Linked DNA regions of Homo sapiens: regions 1 and 3 are each linked to region 2. Evidence: promoter capture Hi-C in 16 types of primary human blood cells and fetal thymus (Javierre and others, 2016). All regions are on one chromosome and are shown on one strand. The core of a region is centred on a gene start or on the middle of the fragment in contact, and the rest is flanking DNA. Distances in the headings are between cores, read along the strand shown. Region 1 overlaps LOC124904185 (a long non-coding RNA gene). Region 2 holds the start of USP24 (ubiquitin specific peptidase 24). Region 3 overlaps LOC124904185 (a long non-coding RNA gene).

Region 1 (3,153 bases), core at 55-2,554, 1.2 Mb after region 2:
GATTAAACTACAAGGATGCTTACTGCAGCATTTTTAATATTAGTAAAAAGCTAGATATAACCTAAATATTTAGCAACGGAAGATCAGTTAAATAAACAGTTCATTCATAAAATGAAATACTATGCAGTCTTTTTAAATGATACAGAAATACGTTTATAGATGCAGAAAGACATTTATGATATATCGTTAAGCAGAAAAGCTGGTTACAAATATATACATGCGGAAAAAAAGTCTGGAAAGACATACCAATGTGATTGTAGCTCTTATATCTGAATGGCAGAATTTATGGATAATTTTTATTTTTTTACTTATCAGTATTTTCTCAATTTTAGATAATATGCCTTACTTGTGTAATAGAAAATAAAATAAAATTTGCTTTTTTAAAGGGTAGGGACATGGTATTCACACAGACTTGGGTTCCAATCCCAGCTAGACCACCAATTAGCAGTGTGACCACAGAGACATTACTTACATCCCCTGAGCTTCAGTTTCTTCATATCCAATATGGGTATAAGGGCACTTTCCTCATGAGGTGGTCTTGAGGTTTACATGTGAAAGCATTAATCAAGTGCTTGACGCAGGGTAGGTACTGAGCTACATTTTTCCCCTTTCTTCCTGGATGTCCAAAAATAACTGAGGTAACCATTTACAATTACAACATGGTCAAACACGCCAAGTCATGTAAAATGTAGATCCGGAAATTATGAGAGACTAGTATTTAGTGCTTCAGCCTAACTCTTTTCTCTCTGATCTCCCCAGCCCCATGCAGTGCGGCGGCAGATGCAGAGATTCCCGTTATTAACCAAGGTGTCTTGAAGGTTCGGAGGCCATCCAGGTGGAATAAAGCAGGCTGTGTTACCCAGCCCCATCAGCAGGTGGGGCCGGTCTCACCTGGTGTCTTCATTCAGCCTGGCACACCTCCCCACCAGGCATCAGACTGTATGTCATAAGGGGCTATTCCGTCAGTTACTGCACATGTTTGAGACTCTCACTCTACCTGCTCCCACCTCAATCCAGTTCCCGTTTGTGCCTCCACCTCCACTTACAGTCTCACTCTTACCACTTAGGATTTTAGCCTCTTCATAGGGGAACTTCGTTGCCTATCAGGAATGTCTGGAATTTGTCCTGCCTTCCCCCAACTACTCATTCATTTCCTCACCAAACTTTATGACTACCTAATGGGTGCCAAGCTTTGTGCTAGGACTCAGAGATCAATCAGAGACAGCAGACCCTGATCTTGGGGGAGCCACACAGCCTGCCCCAAGGCCTCAGGTGGGGAAAACAGACTGGAACACAGACCATAACCAATAGCTATTATAACACAGCACTACAATGCTGTGTTATAGTAACTATTATCATTAGAATCTTTATATAACACTTGTTATATACCAGGAGCTGTTCTAAGCACTTTATATATGTTAAGCTTAATTATTACAACTTATCTATATGAGATAGGTTAAAATTATCTCTATTTGATTGATAAAGGAATTGAGGCACAGAGCAGTTAAGTAACTTGCCCAGGATAGCACAGTTGGTAAATGGCAGAACCAAGATTTGAACTGAGCCTCCTTTACACTCTTAAAAATGACAGGATTCTAAAGAGGTTTTGTTTATGTGGGTCATGTCTAGTAATATTTATCAAGTCAGAAATTAGAGAACTTTTAAAAACATTTATCGATTCCCTTAAAATAACAGTAATAAATCTGTTACATGTTAATCTAAATAATAAATTTTAATGAAAAAAAATCCATAGCAAAATTAGTAAGAAGAATGCCATTGTTTCAGGTTTGCAACATCTTTAATGTCTGACTTATTAACATACAAAGCAGATTCACATATATTTTGCATTCAGCCTATTGTCATGTGTTATTTGATTAAAGGATATGAAGAAACCTGGCCTCACACATCATGAAGTTGAATAAGGGAGAAGTATTTTAATAATCTATTCAGATAACTGTGGACATTCCTCTTTGATAGTACACCAAAACTTGACAAGTGGTGGATTTTTAAAGGGTCACTGCCATGTGGAATCTGAAACCAGCTCACAGTGAAGGATACAAGTTTTCCAAAATCCCAGTTTTTCATTTGAACTCTCAAATTTTATAATTGGCCGTACATACTGTCATTTGTTTTCCTTGAAGTAACAGCTCTGACTTCATCATTTAAATATATATATGTGTGGGTGGATGTGTGTGCGTGTGTCTGTGGGTGTGTGTAGGTGTGTGTGTGGGTGTGTGTCTGCCAACTACCCATGGCTGAATAACTGCAGTGTGTCTGTCAATCGTTCTTTCCAGGAAAATGGTTTTCCATGGAGAAAATGGCTACTTCAGCTCCCAACTCACTCACTCACTCTGGTGCTTTTCCTTGAGACCACCACTGTGCTTTTGTAGGCAACAGAAAAGCTTTACCCATACTCTTATCTCATCACACCAATCATTAAAAAGACAGGCCAGACACTCGAAGGCTGAAGTTTAATAAATTTGATCATTTTTATTGCTTCGTCAAGGACATTAAGTGAAACTGACTTTTTTCTTCCTACCGTGCACATGTGGTGGTGAATAATACAATGATAACTACTGCAGTTTGCTACCACTACCTTGATCCAAACTAAAGCACCAGCTGTTTACCACTGTTGCTTTTACACCATCAGTTTAAACATCAACCAATGAAAAGGGAAAATTACATCTTAGTAGCATTATAAAAATAGTTCTGATCTCATGAACCTCTAAAAGTACCTCAGGTTCCTCCAGGGTCCTCAGGCCACGCTGAGAACCATGGCTCTATACTATATAATCCAGGATAAACCTGGGGCTATGTCAGCTTCCTCACTGATCAAAGTTCAGATTAAAGCCCAACCCTGAGCCCAGAGGCCTTGGGATCTGGACAATCTTTCTTTGGCCAGCCCTTGTCCCTCATCTCTCAGAGCTAGGCCGAGTCTCTTGAACTCCAAGCTCTAGCTTAGATTCTCACTGAAGACCATCTTTCCCTCAAGTCAGACCAACCATAGGCTAGACAAAACCTCAGTTCACCTCACCCTTAAGACACTCATTAGACTTCTAGCCACTCAGGGAAAGAAAAGAGAGGAGAACTCCCATCTGGAGCCCTTACTGCGTGCCAGGCATGACATTCTTTAATTCAACTCTCATCACCTCC
Region 2 (3,237 bases), core at 351-2,850:
AGTCCGTTTTCTTCCCCCACGTTCCTTGCTCACACCCCAAACTAAACAGGCATAGTCTTCTCCACCTAGACTTGAGGTCTCTGATCAAAGCCATTAGCCTCAAGACTCCTCCTCCACCCCCACTGCGCTCCCACCCTGTTCCGCGCCCCTCTGCATAGCACCCTCAGTATGACTACCATCTCTTTCCCCGGTCTAATTTTCTCTCATTTCTGACCTTATCGATGACCAGTACTCCCTCTTTACCCAGACCTGGTGCCAGCTCTATCTTCCAATTCCAGTCCCCATCCCTGCCTAGACCCTCCTCAGCTCCCACCCCTGCCCAGGCCTCCCACCTCTGCCCTCTCAGTGCAATCCCCACTGCTCTCATACCTGATTTTATTCAAGTCCTCATTCCTGGCCGCGGCCCCTTCCCTCTTCATTTTAAATCCTACTCAATGCCCCCCCTTTCCGACCCTTGGCTAAAACCCCAACCTCACTCCTAACCCCAACAGTTTTCCTGTGATCCTGTCAAAGACCACTACTCTGGCCGGCCCACACCGCTTTTTCTGACTCTGAGCCTGGTGCCTCCGCCAATCCTTCACTGAAACCTCGTGCCACAAAATCTCCGACCTAGCCTAGTGCACTAGTACCCCATTTCCGACCCCCTACTGCACGCATCCTTCCCACTATATGCTCAAGTGTCTGTCCTCCCATCTCGGATGATAGCCCTGGAGCCTCCTCCCCATCGTCGGCGTGCATAGCCGGAAGCCTAAGGGACCCCTCCTCACCCCAACCCACAGCTCCGCTGCGCATCCCTAATTCCCTTTCACACGCCTCTCCTATGGGTCCCTCTCCCCACTTACCCCCAATCAAGTGACTTCGGTTCCCAACTGGAGCCTGGGGCTTCTCTCTCTCTCTCCGCCCCGCCCCCACTAAAGCCCCAGTCGAATGCCCTCTCTCCCCACACCAAGCCCAGCGGGGTGTGTCCCCTCCCAGGAACTCCAGCCCAGTGGCTTCCCACAGAGGTCTGGGGTTGCCCCTCCTCACCTCCGCGTCCACCACCTCGTGGTAGGCGGGCGGGGGGTCGAAGCCGCCCCCGCCTCCGGTGCTCCCGCCGCGGGAGGGGCCGCCGCCGCCGCCGTCACCTCCGCCGTCGCCCCGCGGGCCCCCGCCGGGCCCGGGGCTGGGGCCACCGCCGCTGTCCATGGGCTCGTAGCCGCCGTAGTCGAGGCCCGGCCGCTCGTTGGTGAGCAGTGCCACGGCCTCGTTAATGTCGTTCTTGGCCAGGCGCAGGGCCTTGCGGATGGTGGCGGGGTCTGAGAAGCCCATGCACAGCAGCGTGGTCATGTGCTGCTCCTCCTCCGATTCCATGGCTTGGGCCTCCTGGCCGCCCCGGCCAGCGCACGGCGAAGCTACGGGTCCCGGGCCTGGCGGGCCGCGCGGCGCACCCTCCGCGCCGCCTCCGCGCCCAGGTTGGCCCCTGCGTTCCTGCCCCGGGTGCTCCGCAGCAGCCGGGCCAGGCTGGGTGCGGGCTTGGGTCCTGCGAGCCGAGCTAGTGCGGTGAGGCGCTCAGGCGCGGCTGCGGCCCGGCCCAGCCCTGCGCGCCGCCATGTTGGCCTCCTCCCCCTCCGCCTCCTCCTCCCCGGGCGGCGGGGCCGCGCCTCGGCTCCCGGAAGCGGCACGGGAGGCGACCGTGCTCGCCGTTGGCAGGCTAGGGTTGGCGGCGGCGTATTCTGTTTGTTTTAAACGAAGGAGCGGAGGGAGGGGCCGCGCCGCGGAGCGTGCCTAAGGTGAAAGGGCTGCCGTGCAGCCAGGCAGAGGCGAGGAAGGCTTCTCCATCGTCGCCACCGCCCGCCTGTTTCGCCGGCAACAGGTTCCCCCGGGACGGGAGGGGCCGCAGCGCCGCGCAGCTCGCAGCGCTGAACGTCGCGGAAATCCCTTGGCCGGCCGAGCCTCCGCAGCCGCGACCCGGCTTCTCTCCGTCCGAGTCCCCCGAGCCTCTCCGAACCCCCGTTGGACTTCCCCTCCCTGGCCGGCGCCGCCCGACCCGCTCCCCCATCCTAGAGGGAATTCCCTGCGCCGCGGCTGTGAGGCACCTCCACCCCGGCCTGAAATGCACCGCAGTCCTGAAGGAAATCCACCCTCATCCCACGCAGATTCACCCGCAACGCTGCCTGAATACGCCTCGCTGCCCACAGAAATTCCTGCCCAAACCAGACGCGTGGACCACCCAAGACGAAATTCACACTCGACCCTAGCCCCGCCAGCCCTTGCCGAAATCACCCTAAACCCGTTGAAATTAATTCCCAGCTGTCCGAATTTTCCTTCCAACATTAACTGACTACCTGTCTCCGCCAAGCTGACTGAACTCTACCGAACTCTTACCCTGAAAGCCCCTGAGAGTCCAAAATATATTTTTCCAGCCCGAAATCTAAATCCCAGTTCTCTGTATGAAAACCTCCAGAAACCCAGACTCTTACTTCCTTCGGCCACGGACTCGTTCGAACATCGTGGACATCACCTTCCCACATTTTTACCGCAGTCTTTGGCTCCGATTCTTTGTCCCTGCCTCTTGGGCAGCATCCTATCCCTGTTTCTTTCCACCTTTGAGGATTCCTCTACCTCTTTAAAGGCCTGCTTTCTTTGCTTTCTCTTCTCACCTTTGGCATTGGCACACTGGGGTCATATCTTTAGTTCCCTTGACTCCACCATCTAAGCCAAGGGTGTCCAATCTTTTGGCTTCCCTGGGCTACATTGGAAGGAGAAAAATTGTCTTGGACCACATATAAAATATTCTAACGCTAATGGTAGCTGATGAAACTTTTAAAAAATCTCATCATGTTTTAAGAAGTTTACGAATTTGTGCTGAGCCGCATTCAAAGCCGTCCTGGGCCTAAGTCCTTGCTATTTTTCCTCTTCAATTTCCTTCAATCCATAGTTCTCTAGGTTATTTTCCCACCCTTTCCCAAGATTCGGATATCCCTTCATTCTTGCTGAGTTCATCTCCTATGCCTATTCCTACATACTTGCTGAGTTCATCTTCTAATGTCCTCATCCTGGTTTCTTCCTGAACCTGAAATCCAGCTAACCTTACTTTTTCATCCCATCAAACCCCTGCTGTTGCCAGCCCAGCACTCACGAAGATCTTTACATACACCAAATATTAAATTAGGGCCGGTACCTAGACATTGTCTCTGCACTCTGCTGGCATATTTTCCCCTGGACCACGAACCCTTCGTACCTAGTAACTTGCCACCT
Region 3 (3,109 bases), core at 359-2,858, 1.2 Mb after region 2:
AATCCTTCTACCGGATTAAGCCAGAGCCCACAGATCACCCACAGGCTTGAACAGATGTGACACAACGGGGCACTTTCTGGGCCTTGGTCCAAGGAAAGAGCTAAAAGTAGATGGTGCATGGGCACAAGGCACTTGTCACTCTCTCCCTTGTAGAGGCAGTGGGCCGTCTCAGAAAGAACATGAGTCAAAAGACCTGGTTAGCCCAGCTTGGCCATGTGCCAGCTGTTTGACCTTGAGTGAGTCACTTCACTGCTCTGGGCCTCTGTTCCTTCAATGGAAAAATGGAGCTCATCATATGGATTTCACAGTCATGAAGGATTCTGAAATAATCAATCCAAATTTTATTTCTTCAAAGACCATCAAAATGAAACATGAATGGGATTGTCTCTGGCAGGATAAAGGCCTGGCTTTAAGGATGAAACATGTCTGTGGCTTCCCTAACTCCTCCCCTCCTTCCTCAGTGCTCCTCGGTGCCTTTCACATGCTTCCCCCATAACACTCTGCTTCAGGAGTTCCTCTCCTATAATTCGGCTTCTCGGAAACAGGGATTCTGCAACATTTATCTCTGCTTTCCCACACCTGGCCACACATGGGTTCCTAAATATGTATATCCAACTAAATGCACTTTGTAAATGATGCAACCCTCTGATGATTATCTACAGTCTAGGAGGGGAAATGGAACATATCCATAGATATTAACATATCTGTCAATATTAGCATATCAATGAGCATATCTATCAAAATATTCCATTTTCCCTCCTAGACTGTAGATACTTTGAGAGCAGGGGTCAGACCTACTTTATCCATGTATCTACCACAGCGCCAAACTAGACACACAGGTAATGTTCAGTCAGTATATGTGGAAAGCAAGGAGAAAGATGGGTATGTGAAAAGCAAGGAGAAAGATCTGAAGGGGAGAGAAAGAAATAGAAACTCCCCCTCCCCAACAGCAGCAGCTAACCCAGCCAGTTCACCTACCCACTCAGCCACTGGGCAGACCCATACTCTCACTCCTCTTCCTGAGACCAGAATTGAGATTGTTTTTAGTCTTCCTGGCCCAAAACTACAAAATCCACAAGGGCCAGCTATAATTTTTCTTTCCACCAAGATTTTCCTGTATGATGTCTAAAGACTCAACAGTCACCCAAAGGTTCTGATTGCAACGGATCGTCAGGGTTACAGATCCCCTGTAGAATTTCTCTACTAAGATGGGTGAGAAGAAATCATCTTCCATTTGTTTGCCCTAGACACAATGCTGTTTTCAACCCGTTTCTTTGCCCATGTTGTCTCCTTTTGTCTAAGATGCCTTTTTGCAACCTCCAAACCATATCGTCACACTCTACAATTCCTCCCACCATCATGCTGACGGCAGCCAATTTGCCCAGCAGACTCATACTTACCCTTCAAGATGCAACTGAAATGGAACCTCACTAGCATAGGAGGTGGTCTGCACAGGGGGCATACAGAACAGTTGCTAGGAGCCCTGACATTAGAGTTAAATCTCAACACTAGCCCATACAAGTTCTAAGACCTTGGGAAAGTCACTGCCCATTTCTGAGTCTCAGTTTGCCCATCTGTAAAATGGACAGGATAGCAAGCACCTTCTTCATAGGGTTGTTATTAGGAGTAAATTGGAGAAATGAATGTAAAGGGCTTGGCAGAGTACTTGGCACATAGAAAGCTGTGAATAAATGGCAGCTGTAGGTGGGTATGAAATATTCCTTGTCTCCCAGATTGGATTAGGCACCCCTGCTCCCTACCCCCATGGCACCCTGTGCTTACTCCTGTAGTGGCCATTTATCGAACTGTTTTCATATCTGCTTATACTTGTGACCCTAAGCTATGGGGAACTCACAGGCAGGAACTCTCTCTGTCTCATTATCCCCATGGTCCAGTACTAGGGCTGTTTATTGCATGAGTGAATGAATTAGTGGAATGAATAAATACATGAATAAATAGAGTGGATGAATATATCTCTAGGCTACATGGAGAGCAGTGCTTACTCTAAGCTCCACCAGGGCTGGAGATGGGGCTGCCAGAGTGGCTTAGGTCTGAACCATGCCTAGGATGCCACAGGAAGCCCATGAGGCCAAAGACCAGTGGGGACAGTGGGACTTAAAGGTAAATTTTTGTTATGGCTGAGCTTGCCCCTGTCACCCTCTCCCAAGGCCTGCCAGGTGACTAACAATCAATAAGTATTTGGTTGGAATTCAGAGATGCATTCATTCATCCAACTAATATGTATTGAGCCAGACAATGTTCCAGGAAATAGGGCATAACCATGGATAAGATGGGTGTATTTCCAAGAGAGATGAAAGAAAGTGGTTGGGTGTGGTGGCTCACACCTGTAATCCCAGCACTCTGGGAGGCCGAGGCAGGCAGATCACAAGGTCGGGAGTTTGAGACCAGCCTGGTCAACATGGTAAAACCCTGTCTCTACTAAAAATACAAAAATTAGTTGGGTGTGGTGGTGGGTGCCTGTAATCCCAGCTACTCGGGAGGCAGGAGAATGGCTTGAACTCAGGAAGCAGAGGTTGCAGTGAGCCGAGATCGTGCCACTGCACTCCTGCCTGGGTAACAGAGCAAGGCTCCATCTCAAAAAGAAAAAGAAAAAGAAAACAGAAAGAAAGAAATAAAATATGATTCCCTTTTGGATTATATGATGAGAGGTAACACAGGCCAATATCACCTATGGCTGTGGAAGTTGGAAGAGAAAAGAGGAGCAACAGACAGGGAGTCAGGAAACCCAGATTCTTATTTTTGCTGTCAGCACAGTCATCTCAACCAAGTCACTTGGCCTCTCTCTGCCCCTGGGACACATGACTTATACAGGGATGACCTATCTGCCCTACCCACCACAAGACCAGATATTCAAACTGAGGATGATTGTAGAAAATGCTCTGGAGTTATGGAAAGAGGACAACTTTTTGGCTCTGTGAACTGAGATACATCATTCATATCTCCAAAGCTCTACTTATTCAACTGTTAAATGGGGATAGCCATACACGCTTGGTCTACTTTGCAGAGTCACTGGAGGTCTTAACCTAGACCTTAGAAGGAAAAAAGGCTTTGTAAGAAATAAAGAACACTGACAGTGTAACTGTCTGGT

Evidence for each region. Contacts are between HindIII fragments. The CHiCAGO score rates a contact against its expected background, and 5 or more counts as called.
Region 1: a contact is called between a fragment that was not itself captured here and the fragment with the promoter of USP24 in region 2, in 1 of 17 cell types (total B cells). The highest score is 7.7, in total B cells.
Region 3: a contact is called between a fragment that was not itself captured here and the fragment with the promoter of USP24 in region 2, in 4 of 17 cell types (total B cells, naive B cells, M0 macrophages and 1 more). The highest score is 13.9, in total B cells.

What each region holds. Positions count from the first base shown.
Region 1 is chr1:56,408,388-56,411,540 of GRCh38, forward strand. LOC124904185 (a long non-coding RNA gene) reads right to left here. Exons shown (of 2, transcript XR_007066106.1): 2 at 1,780-3,153. Among named protein-coding and RNA genes, the nearest start is that of LINC01767, 5.0 kb to the right of the region's middle. The HindIII fragment of the contact is 233 bases long and covers 1,189-1,421 here.
Region 2 is chr1:55,213,764-55,217,000 of GRCh38, forward strand. USP24 (ubiquitin specific peptidase 24) reads right to left here and starts at 1,601. Exons shown (of 68, transcript NM_015306.3): 1 at 1,027-1,601. The coding sequence starts at 1,350. It overlaps LOC100507634 (a long non-coding RNA gene), which reads left to right and starts at 1,645. Exons shown (of 1, transcript NR_038320.1): 1 at 1,645-3,237. RefSeq lists an enhancer at 489-548 and silencers at 1,009-1,198, 1,269-1,778. The HindIII fragment of the contact is 9,819 bases long and covers 1-3,237 here.
Region 3 is chr1:56,425,220-56,428,328 of GRCh38, forward strand. All of the region lies in intron 1 of LOC124904185 (a long non-coding RNA gene), which reads right to left. Among named protein-coding and RNA genes, the nearest start is that of LINC01767, 12 kb to the left of the region's middle. The HindIII fragment of the contact is 4,004 bases long and covers 1-3,109 here.